Linked DNA regions of Homo sapiens: region 1 is linked to region 2. Evidence: promoter capture Hi-C in 16 types of primary human blood cells and fetal thymus (Javierre and others, 2016). All regions are on one chromosome and are shown on one strand. Each heading gives the region's core, a stretch centred on a gene start or on the middle of the fragment in contact. The rest is flanking DNA. Distances are from core to core; before and after follow the strand shown. Region 1 overlaps ZFY (zinc finger protein Y-linked). Region 2 holds the start of RPS4Y1 (ribosomal protein S4 Y-linked 1).

Region 1 (6,554 bases), core at 1,863-4,362, 110 kb after region 2:
GTTTTGGAAGTGTTACAAAGGCCATTTCAGAAACTATTTTCATTTCTAGGGATCAGAAAATAGGAAGCTTAGAGTGATTGGTGATAATGGGAATACAAGCAGGGCAAACATAACAGAGAAATTGTGGAGAAGAAATTGACAAGATCTGAGAAACCAACTGTCAGGGAAGGAGGAAAAGGCCATAGTGATTGTGCCAGGAAAAATCTGGGTTTTAATTTTTGAAGATGTTCAGTAAACGGTCTGATGGAAATTTTAGGTCCTTCTCAGCGTGTGGATTTTGGGGATCATCTTCACGTAAGTCGTCATTAAAAACTGTGGAAATAAATGAGAAAGTAGTAGAGAGGAAAGCTGAATGTGAAACCTTGGACAAGACTATAGTAGCCATCGGTTAAGAAGGTGAGAAGAGAACTAAGATATCATATAAACAAAGAGGTAGGAGGGAGTTTCAAAATTAAAGAAACTGATCATCTATCAGACTCTAACAGACAGGTAAGGAAGATGAATACCTGAAACAGGAAAATTACGCTACAAGTTGATCTTTTTTTTTTTTTTTTTGAGATGGAGTCTCGCTCTGTCGCCCAGGCTGGAGTGCAGTGGCACGATCTCGGCCCACTGCGAGCTCCGTCTCCCGGGTTCACACCATTCTCCTGCCTCAGCCTTCCGAGTAGCTGGGACTACAGATGCCCGTCACAGTGCCCGGCTAATTTTTTGTATTTTTAGTAGAGACAGGGTTTCACTGTCTGTACTGTCAAGACACCAGGTGGTCTTGATCTCCTGACCTTGTGATCCACCTGCCTCAGCTTCCTAAAGTCCTGGGATTACAGGCGTGAGCCACCATGCCTGGCCCACAAGTTGATCTTTTATTAGAACTAATGAAATTGCTGTTTTTAGGAAAATTGGAAGGTCACTTCAATAATCCAACAAATCACATTTATTCCATCATTCATTGCCTTAATTTCATGTGGTTTTCTTTAATTATGCAGAGAAGATTAGTTTGCATTTATAATTTTATAATTACATTTTTTTAAGAGGGGAAAAATTAATGAAGCCAGAGATTGTTTGGGTAGAGGGAGCAGTGACAGCTTATTTAGAGCAGGTGCCCTTTTTCTTTTTCTGTGGTTGACAAAATATTAGTGTAGTCATCATGGCCTTTTTATTTGAAGCAGTTTGAATGTCATAAAACACACTTTCTTTAAATTGAGTAGATCTGTTTCAGAGAAACACTTTGGAAATCCATTGGTTTCTCACTTGCATATTGCCTTATCATATAGTTTAATATTTGAAAATTGACACACATAAGTGACCATAGCATGTGCTAAAAATACAGTAAGGGAGCTGGACATAGTGGCATGTGTCATTAGTCCTAGCTGCTTGGGAGGCTGAAGTAAGAGGATTACTTGAGCCTAGGAGTTGGAGGCTGCAGTGAGCCATGATCATGCCACTGCACTCCAGTCTGGGTGACAGGGTGAGACCCTGTCTCTGAGGGGAGAGAATGGGGAGGGCTTTTAAGCTACACAGAAATCTGAGGAGTGCTTATAATTATTAGGAATTTTGAGTTTTTTACCATTTTGTTAATTTACTGTAGAAAGACTGGAGACTATGTTAAATATAGAGATGTAATACAGTCTTGCAGCAAAAACCTACAGAATGTGTTAAAGTTGAGAGTTAATCATGGGTGCCAGACACAATAACATTCCTGTAATCCCAGTACTTTGTGAGGCTGAGGTGGGAGGATTGCTCAAGCTCAGGACTTTGACACCAGCCTGGGCAACATAGTTAGACCTTGTCTATACAAAAAGATACTTTAAAAATTAGCCAGGTTTGGTGACACATACTTGTAGTCCCAAGTAGTTGGGCTGAGGGGTGAGCATTGCTTGAGCCTGAGAAGTTGAGGCTGCAGTGAACTGTGCCACTTACAGTTTAGCCTGTATGACAGAGCCAGAGGCCCTGTTTACAAAAAAAAAAAAAAAAATCATGGGGGTTACTGATAGAAGGCAAGAGGGAGTCATCTGGTGTGTAAGAAATGTTCTGTTATCTTAATATAAATAATGCAAGTACCAGTTAACACTTACGTACTTAACATAAATAATGCAAATTCCAGTTAACACTTAGGTAAAAATTTGTTATGCTAAATACTTAAGCATTGTGAATTTTATATAAGATGATAATTGAACTTTTTAAAAAATCTAAACAAGCCAGATATGGCGGCCTGTAGTCCCACCCACTCAGTAGGCTGAGGGAGGAAGAATTACTTGAGCCCTGGAATACTAAGCTAGTGTGAGGAACATAGCAAGACCCAAAATCTTTAAAAAACAAAAAAACAGAAACACTGTCAATCTGATTTGATCTACCTGCCCTTTCCTGTCTTGTTGCAGCCCATGTATCCCTGGAAATCAATTTGTTCCCTTTAATTTTACATTGATAGCTTAGTAAAAAATAATTTGAGCATTTCAGAAATGTGAATATCATGACATTTTAATATGTGATATAAAAATTAATGTTTGGTATACTTTATTCCCTGGTTTAGGAGCTGTGACTAATGAGAATTAAAGGCCATGGATGAAGATGAATTTGAATTGCAGCCACAAGAGCCAAACTCATTTTTTGATGGAATAGGTATTACTATTTATTGGGTTGTTTCACTTCCCATCTGCCAGATTTTGAATTACTTACCAAAATTGCAGAATCTGATGTTAATCCATATTTAGGTACTTAGGTCCATACTTAGGTCCTGTCAGAATCTCATAGCCAACTCATAATCTTGTTAGTTAAGCCATCAATATCAAAATCTTACTGTTACCCTTCAGTTATTCCAGTTTTTCCAGTTATGCAACTAAAGCCTGCTAGTTCTCCCTTTGAAATGTTTTCTGTTTGTGCTAGTTTTCTATTTTTCTATTGGTACATTTCAGCAAATTTACTAATCTAAAACAGGACAAATTTATCTCAGAGTTCTATAGGTCAGAAATGTGGCTCAATTGAGTTCTGCGTGTAGAATTATACAAGGTTAAAATTAAGATGTTGGCCAGGTGTGGTGGCTCACATCTGTAATCTCATTGCTTTGGAAGGCTCAATTGTGAGGATTGCTTGAGATCAGGAATTGGAGACCATCGTGGGTGGTGGACAACCCAATGGAAACCTGTGTCTACAGAAAAAAAAATTTTTTTTTAATTAGCTGAGCATGGTGGTGCATATCTCTAGTTCTAGCTGCTCTGGAGGCTGAGGTAGGAGGATTGTTTTACCAGAAGTTAAAGGCTGTGGTGAGCTATAATGGCACAGCTGTACCCCAGCCTGGGTAACAGAACAAGACAGTGTCTCAAAAAATAAATAAATAAATAAATAAATAAATAAATAAATAAATAAATAAAATAAGCTATCTGCAGGGCTGGAGGCTCTTGACTTCGAAGAATATCCATACTTTTAGCCAAATTTAGTTTCTTTTTGTTGCACAATGGAGATACTGTTGTTCCCTACAGTTCATCATCCAGGGCCATTTTTTGCTTTCAGAGCCTGCCCACATTTCTTCTCATGCTTTGCATGGTGGTTTCCTGAAGCAGCAGTGAGTGGAGTCCATCTTATGTTTTTAGTCTTTCTGATCTTCCCCTCTATCACATCCGTCTTCTTGAATCTAGCCAGAAAACTATTCAGTTTAAGAGCTCACATGATTAGATTTGATGCACCAGGGTAATCCAAGATAATTGCCCAATTTTAAGTTCATAATCTTAATTATACCTGAAAAATTTCTTTTGCCATATCAAGTAACATATTTTCAAGATTTATAAGGATTAGTTTATGGACATCTTTGTGAAAGGACCATTCTCCCTGCCACCATCTTCACCCCGGTTCTCAAATATGTCTCTGGCAAATGTAAAATAACATCCACCCTCTCTTAAAGTTCCCAGTCCAAAAAAAAAAAATCTTACCTGAAATTAATCAGCTCAGAAGTCCTAAGTATCATTTAAATCAGATGCTTATTCTCTGGGTATCAGTCATTAAGTGCAACTCCTGGGACATAATTCCTCTTTATCTGCTTCCCAAAGTACAGTGGTAGGACAGTTTGGGATATTCTGGTTCAAACAGGGTGACATGAAAGGTAAGAGAAATTTGTCTGAAGAAATTTTGAAATGCAGCTGGACAAACTCCCATTAGGTTTCAAGACCTGGGAATAATCCTTTTTGGCCTGTGGCTCCGCCCTTTGAGTCTTCCTTGCCATTTTTTTCAAAGATAGCAGGTATTTGCAGCTGAATAGTTTTATTTCCTGCTTCCTGCCTCTGGAATTCTGTCAGTCCAACTGTCTTCATTATATTGATTCTGTGTCCCTTTCCGTTTAAGCTAGCAGTGCTTCTTTTGAAAAAAATTTTGCGTGTGTCATGGGGATTTATTGTATTAGGCAAGAGGCTAATATATTTTTTTTCTGAGATTATCCCATGTCTGTTTTTGACTTCTGCTAAAATGGTTGAAGTCCAATATCCTTAGATTTCTTAGAGGTGTTGGGTATGTGTAAGTCACACTTTTACTTGCTTGAAAAAGACTTAATTCTCTGGCCTTTTGATCTTTCCCTTTCCTTTCCCTCCACTTCCTTTCCTTTTTCTTTTTACCTTACCTTACCTTACTTTACTTTACCTTACCTTACCTTTCCTTACCCCTTGCCTTTTCTTTTTCTTTCCTCTTTCTTTTTCTTTCACCTTGGCTTTTCCCTTTCTTTCCTTTTTCCTTAACTTTTACTTTTCTTGTTTAATGATCGGGTGCCTGAAGGAATCTTTTGTTTTTTCTGAGGGTTCATGGAATAGTTGAGAATCACATACTGTTTTTTTCTCTCTCTCTAAATCAGCGTTCCCCACCTTTTTGAGTACCAGGGACTGGTTTCATGGAAGACAATTTTTCCAGAGACCTGGGAGTAGTGGGGTTCGGGGGATAGTTACTAGATGAATGAAGTGCATTACATTTATTGTGCACTTCATTTGTATTATTATTATGTGTAATATATAATGAAACAATTATACAGTTCACCATAATTTAGAATCAGTGGGAGCCCTGAGCTTGTTTTCCTGAAACTATGCCATCCCATCTGGGGGTAGGAGACAGATCATCAGGCATTAGATTCTTATAAGGAACATGCAACCTAGATCCCTCACGTGTGCAGTTTACAGTACGGTTTGCATTCCTATGAGAATGTAATGTTGCTTCTGACCTGACAGGAGGCGAGAGCTCAGGCAGTGATGCCGGTGATGGGAAGTGGCTGTAAATACAGATGAGGCTTTGCTCTGACAAGGAATCTCCTTAATTTAACCTCCCCTTTCACCCCCACCCCCCCCCCGCCCCCAAGATGGACAGAAAACTTCTGATTTTGTCATGTTTTGCTATCTTTTTGTTTAATAAATATTCCAACTATTCATTTTTCTCACTGAATTTTACTCTAAGCATTAAGTAGAAACAAGACCACTTGTCCAACACTTTGCTGAAATCTTCTGAGCTAAAGAGTTGATTTTTACAAGTTGTTTTTTCCACATAACCAAGGGAGACAATTTTGCTAAGTGGTTTGTCTTCAAGTTGTGCTTTCCACATAACCCAGGGAGACAGTTTTGCTAAGTGGTCTGTCTTTTTATGTAACAAAGCTCTTCTTTCCTTCAGATAGAAACTCACTTTTAAGCCCTTACAAGCAGTGTTACAAAACTCCAGATTTCTACTAGCAGTCATACATGACGTAGGTATTCTCTGAGTCCATGTAGGATTTCTCTACCTTGATCCCTTCTCCCTCTGGATTCTCACTGGCAGAGTTGTTACTGGTTTTTTTTTTTTGTTTTTGAGATAGGGTCTCACTGTGTCACCAGGGCTGAAGGGCAGTGACATGATTATGGCTCCTCACTGCAGCCTCAACCTTCTGGGCTCAAGTGATCCACCCGCCTCAGCCTCCTGAGTAGCTGGAACTACAGGCACACACCACCATGCCTGGGGAATTTTTTAAAATAGAGATGAGGTTTTGCTGTACTGCTCAGGCTGATCTTGAATTCCTGAGCTCAGGCTATCCTCCCACCTCAGCCTCCCAAAGTGTTGCGATTACAGGCATGAGCCACTGTGCCCGGCCTGTTATTTTTAACATTCATGTTTTTACTTATTGGTTTATTTAAGGAAATCTAGGCTTTTTTCCACTCAACAGAATCTAAGCTTTTCATTCTGTAAAAATAATTTTTTTTTTCATTTTCCTAAGAGCTGGAATTTCTCTTTATTCTTGTAAGAAATTTTACAGCTGGCACCTATCCAAGTGCAAAGCCACTTTACGTTTTTAGGTATTTGTATAAGCAGCTCTCCACTTCTCGACACCAAAATCTGAAATTATTTCTGTTACTGCAATGAAAATTACCACAAACTCAGCAGTTCAAAACAAATTTATTGTCTCACAGTTTCTGTAGGTCAGAATTCTATCATGGTGCAGCTAGTTTCATAAGGTATTGCCAGAGGTTTGTTCCTTTCTGGTGAATCCAGTTTCATTGTTCTCTGGATGCACCCAATTTGAGGTTATTCAGGTCATTGGTTGAATGCAGTTCGTTGTAGCTATA
Region 2 (5,940 bases), core at 36-2,535:
TACATCTTACATCTTGCCTTCCTAAAATGTATGAAACCAACCTGTGCACTGGCCGAGAGAGAGAGAGAGAGAGAGAGAGAGAGAGAGAGAGAGAGAGAGAATAACCAGAAAGGAACACAAGGAAACTTTTGGAGGTGATGGAGATGTTCATTACCTCGATTGTGATGGTGGTATCGTGGATTTACGCCTATGTCCATACTCATCAAATTGTACACATTAAGGAAGTGCAGCTTCATTTGACTGGTTGTTTTTTTGTTTTAATTTAATTTAATTTAGTTTATTTTGAGACGGAGTCTTGCTCTGTCACCCAGGCTGGAGTGCAGTGGCGCGATCTCGGCTCACTGCAAGCTCCGCCTCCCGGGTTCACGCCATTCTCCTGCCTCAGCCTCCCGAGTAGCTGGGACTACAGGCGCCCGCCACCACGCCCGGCTAATTTTTTGTATTTTTATTTTTAGTAGAGACGAGGTTTCACCGTGTTAGCCAGGATGGTCTCGATCTCCTGACCTCGTGATCCGCCCACCTCGGCCTCCCAAAGAGCTGGGATTACAGAAGTGAGCCACCGTGCCCGGCCTGGCTGGTTGTTTTTTGTATATCAATTCTGTCAGGCGGACGCGCGTGAAAAATTCCAATGGAAGCTGTGACCACACACACGCCTGCGCAGTACAACTTACATAGCGGACTTCACTCTCTTAAAAGTGAATTGTTTTGCAGGTTTTACGACATGGACAGAGCTGTGCAGCCATCATCACGAGCTAATCCAAAGCAAGGTATTCGACTTAAAATTCAAATGCCATGAAACCTATCCTTTCAATGTTTACGGTACAGACGATTTTAGTACTTTCCCAAACCTATGAAATTGGCCCCAATCCTGAACAAGGAATGATTTGTCTCTGAAACAAATCATGATTTTGCAATCACAGCATGTCACAGTCACAAGGAATCATATAGGTTATTTCTCACGATTGGCATTTTTTTTTAAGGCTCCTAAATCGTGCTGTTTCAGGACTTTTGCTAAATATTTTGAAGGTCGGCGAAAGATAAGTTTAAGAGTGTAAACTGCGTCCTCCCAGCTCAGCCAACTTGACGGGGGGTAGGCACAACAAAAAGTCCTGCGGCATAACTGACACCTGTAAATCAGTATCAGAAACTGAAAATGCTAAGAAATTCAGTTCCAGGATATGAACTCTACAGCGGAAGAATAAGAAACCGGAACTAAACTTCTCACTCATCTGACTTCCTGCGGTTTACGACAACAGACTTTGGTTGCACCGGAAAAGAACAGATTCTCTTCCGTCGCAGAGTTTCGCCATGGTAAGACCGATAGTTCCTAACTCCTAGTATATCTGCCTCCATCATTTGAAAAAGGGCCGTTCTACCTTGGCGATGTTTCACTTTTCGGTCGCCCCTACTTGGTGGGTGGGAATGCTGCTGGTGCTGCTTCAGGAAACCCGATTTGGAGAGGGGAGGTCTGAGAAGAGTGTGTCTCGTTGTGCTCGGTCTGGGGGCCGTCACGTGAGTCCATCCTTGACGCAGCCCGGCAGTGGCTTTTTACCCGGATTAGCTTATTTTCACACGTTGAAGCAGCCTCAGATTCGCTTGGAGAGCACTGTGGACGCTCTCTTGACGGATGCTAGGGAGACCCGCCAAGTTTTCAAAGGTCTGTGCTTTGCGTGGTCTCTTCTGGGGTCTGGCAGGAAGTAATATTTGTTCAAAACGGGGCTTGAGTATGGGCTGGGCGATCTTTTCTCCTTGAGTCAGGTATTACCCGTTAGCAGTTCCTACAGCTGAAGATGAGGGCATTTCACTGTCAGCGGAAACTAATTTCTCTGAGTTTCGTGTCCTTTTCAGGCCCGGGGCCCCAAGAAGCACTTAAAGCGTGTTGCAGCGCCGAAGCATTGGATGCTTGACAAACTAACGGGTGTATTTGTGAGTATAACTTTGTTTTTTGTGGTTTTTTTTTGTTTTTTTTAGTCAAGAGTGCATGCTAAATACCTGTGGCTCGGTATTTCTTGGGGGCGGCGTTTGCTTGTTTGTTATGTGGGATTTTCGTTGGTAAAGACTTCCCGCACCCTGAACTTGTCCTTGCACTTTTCTGTGCAACAAAGGGCCAGGATGTCACGTCCCGATGGTTTCCTTTGCTCTTTTAGCTCGCCACTTCAGAGGGCACTTCCTGAGCCCAGAGCTGGGTGGGTTAATGAATGTGTCCAATTCCACATAAGAAAGGAGTTCAGTGACAGTCCGCTGAGTCCCCCATTAATAATCAAATGCGTTTAATTTAAAGTTACCCCTTGTTTTAGAGGGTGGAGTAGCTGCTTTTTACGTTGAGCCCGAGTTACTGGTTTAATAGTAAAGGCTACAGGAGCCCACGAAACAAGGGCAAGAAGTTGTGTGAGAAAGTCTGGAGGCTCTTGAACCCAACCTTGAAGACCTGGCAGGATGAGGGCAGTATACTCAGAGGCACAGTAGGCAAGCATCTCACAAGGAGACTAGGCAATTTCCACATTGATGGTGTGGTCACACTAGGAGAGAGTGGTTAAAACTGTAAAGTCTTGGTCTTCTGAGACAGAGAGGAGCCAGTGTGAAGAAGACAGAATCGAGGCGCTTAAGATGCCAAGGGTTTTTTGAGCAGGAATAAATGTGGTAAGAGACTATATTTAGCTCTGAGGGTCTCCATTTAGGAGGCACTTAGTAACTAACTTGATTTGGCCTCTTCTTGGTACAGTTTGAACTCTGAACACTGAGTAGTAGAAACTTGTCTTCCTTGTTCTGATATTTTCAGAGAGAACATAGGCAGTGTGTTGGCTGGGGACCTGGATTTGCAACCTGTCCCTGTCAGTTTCTGCTTCCAAGTGCTACCTCTGCTACTGTCACCTACTATTTGACCTCCCTGGATGGGCCATTGTTTTCTCTATTGTTAAGTGGATGAGCAAGGCACTCTTTAAGAAGACTTGCTGGGAACTTGGTCCCTTAGTCTTGTGGGTTCCTCTCCTTTTCCCTGTGACATTGATGAAAGTGTGTGGTTAATGATCGCGAGTCCGTTTTAAGAGAGACAAAGCTAGAGAGGGATCTGTAGAAGCAGCTTGAACGGTCTCCATTGGAAGAGATTCTTGTGTGATCCAAACTTAAAAGGTAATTGGGGAGTGGTGTTCAAGACAGACCTTGAGACTTTTATATGTACTGGTAGCAGATATCCTAAGGACAGTATAACACCAAAACTGCGAGAGTATAGGTTACAGGATTTGTTGCGGTGTGAATTTGATGACACTTAAGCCGGCAAGCAGCCAAGAGAGGAGGAACGCACATTGGGTATTACAGGGTGGTCCTGCAACATCGGCAGGGCTTGTGTGGAACTTTGAAGCCTGGCATGGTGAGAGAGTAGTAGAATATGTCTTCATAAGGTTTTGGGTAAAGCGTAAGCTACACTTGAGATACATGGGATGTAGTGTTGTGTTCAAGGGAGGTTTGAAGAAGGAGTATGAGTGGCAGTGGTGCTTGGGGCAGGGCAAAATGGGGAGATGGTTGTGAGGCTAGATTTGGGGAAGGAAGGGGCACAAAATGAGATTTCCATGGTTGGGGATATGACCTTCCTAACAAGACAGACCTCTAAACTAATAAAATAATTGCCCTCTTGTATTCCTCTTCCCCACAACAAGTTAAGTTCAGCTGAACTTATGCAGAACTAAAGTACGTCATCTGCTCAATCTGGTTACATAAGGAGTGGATCTTCTTAGATTAGGTTACCTTTCCTTGTCTTCTACAGGCACCTCGTCCATCGACAGGTCCCCACAAGCTGAGGGAATGTCTTCCTCTGATCGTCTTCCTCAGGAATAGACTCAAGTATGCGTTGACTGGAGATGAGGTAAAGAAGATATGTATGCAACGTTTCATCAAAATTGATGGCAAGGTTCGAGTGGATGTCACATACCCTGCTGGATTCATGGGTAAGGAAAGAGTTCTTTGTTTTGTTTTGAAGAAGGAACAGGTTGAGAGAAGGACAAGATGTAGGGCTCTCATGTTGCCAGTGATAAAACTGGACACTGAACTTCAGATTTCTGCAGAAGTTACTGCTGGTCCTTTCAGAAGGAGAATGAGGGATAGGGAGAGGAGTGGCAAGGCTCAAGTGAAAAGCTGGAAAGGGGTTGATAATGTAAATGGGATGAGGCCAGCAGTGGCTGCATGCTGGCGGATTATCAAAGTTAGGCTCCTACCTTCCCGGCAGAGACTGGGAGACAGAGGAGCTGTCCTTAGGTGTTGGCTGGAACAAACAGTAAATTCTTTTGGCAGCCTTGAGTTTTCTCAGGCAGGCATTTTGAGGCAGACTGGGCTCATCTTGAGCTTTTAGAAGCTGTGTTAGTGTTGAGGTCTTCATAGGTCAAGGTTGAAGCTTAGCCAAGAAGAGGGCTCAGAGGAAACTGGCTAACGATTGGTCAAGGAGAGAATCTTTGTCAGTGAACAGGGTTTTGGCTCTGTCTTCCCACTTCGTTGATGACTTAACTATTCTGGATCTCCAAGGATGGATTTGCAGCTTTTTTTGGCGGGGAGGGTGGAGGAGGGGCAGAAGGGTCACACACCTCTAGGGAAAAAGTGTACCAAGAGGGAAGGTAGGGAAAGGTAAGGAATTCTGACCTAGTGCTTTGTTCACCCTTTTCATGGTGAAAGGCTCAGTACAGCTTTTTAGCCTAGCATTGTCCAGAAAGCAGGGGGATGATTACTTTGTCAGGTGTGGATGCTACCGAGTGGATGGGGTTCCAGGCCGGACATTCCTAGGATCCAGCCACTGAGTTAGAAAAGACAGACCTTCCTTTTCTTACTTTCCTTCCTTCCTCTTTTTTTTTTTTAGCATTTTGCTTTGTTTCTCAAAACCCCAAATCCTGAGTGAGGCAGGACTCCTGATAAGCGAAGTCATGGAGGGCGTAAATGGGGCCAGGACATTGATTGGGCAGCCTGCTGAGCCTGGAGCCTTGCTTGCTTAAATGTGAGGTCTGCTTGTTCATTTGGTTTCCTGGTATTTGTGGGTGTGCTCATGTATGTTTTCTCCTCAGGATCCTGAGTGCGTTAACCCAGCACACAGTCTCAAGCAGCTATTGCACAAGAACATAGGAAGCAATAGAGCAGCCATAAATGTATTCACTTTCTTTTGTTGGATGACATGTATTGGGAGAGGAGCAGGGGTTGGTTGGTTTCATTCAAGCACCTCCGCCAAGCCCTGGGGACTCCTAGGCTGCTAAAACGTTCTCAGGTTCAACCTGGCATAGAGTGTTCCTGCTGTGCAGGCAAAAGAAACTTTGTGTTTGTGTTAACGATGTTCCTTATACCCTTTTGTGATCAGATGTCATCAGCATCGAGAAGACAGGTGAACATTTCCGCCTGGTCTATGACACCAAGGGCCGTTTTGCTGTTCACCGCATCACAGTGGAAGAGGCAAAGGTATGTTGCACAAGTCAAGTGAGCTTTGTAATTTCCAGACAGATAGGTCGGTTGCTAAGTTTGTCAGAGGGTGTTTAAGCCAGATTCCGGGAATATTTCCTATCTCTACTTGTTTGTCTGGTTGTTTAATCCAGGCATGTAGGTGCACACTGATAGAAAGTAATGGATTTTCCACACAAGACTGTTTTAGAAACGGGATTACAAGTAAGGAGTTCTCTGAAGGACAAGATATTTCTGTACAGGAAAGATCTGTGATATTGACCAGGAAGGCCTGGGTAGAAATCCAGATTTCTTGTCATTGATTAATTGTGTAACTGCAGGCAACAGTACATAGAACCTTTTTTGAGTCTTTGTTTTCCTTGTAAATGGTGATAATATGCTTTCCTGCCAGGTTTCTGTGACTATGTTAGTAGTAGTGCTGCCTTGCACTTGCTAGACATAGAAGATGATTGACTGCCTGATGTCTGCCTCTGCCCTTAAAACTCCCTCTTCCCTCCCCAGATTTAATGGCTG

What was found. The method cuts DNA at HindIII sites, captures the fragments that hold promoters and counts their contacts. A CHiCAGO score of 5 or more calls a contact.
Region 1: a fragment that was not itself captured here is called in contact with the fragment with the promoter of RPS4Y1 in region 2 in 1 of 17 cell types (naive CD4 T cells); the score reaches 5.1 in naive CD4 T cells.

Annotation. Positions count from the first base shown.
Region 1 is chrY:2,951,382-2,957,935 of GRCh38, forward strand. It overlaps ZFY (zinc finger protein Y-linked), which reads left to right. Exons shown (of 8, transcript NM_003411.4): 2 at 2,528-2,616. The coding sequence starts at 2,556. Among named protein-coding and RNA genes, the nearest start is that of ZFY, 19 kb to the left of the region's middle. The HindIII fragment of the contact is 6,095 bases long and covers 66-6,160 here.
Region 2 is chrY:2,840,317-2,846,256 of GRCh38, forward strand. RPS4Y1 (ribosomal protein S4 Y-linked 1) reads left to right here and starts at 1,286. Exons shown (of 7, transcript NM_001008.4): 1 at 1,286-1,311; 2 at 1,849-1,926; 3 at 3,761-3,941; 4 at 5,330-5,427. The coding sequence starts at 1,309. The HindIII fragment of the contact is 6,443 bases long and covers 1-4,382 here.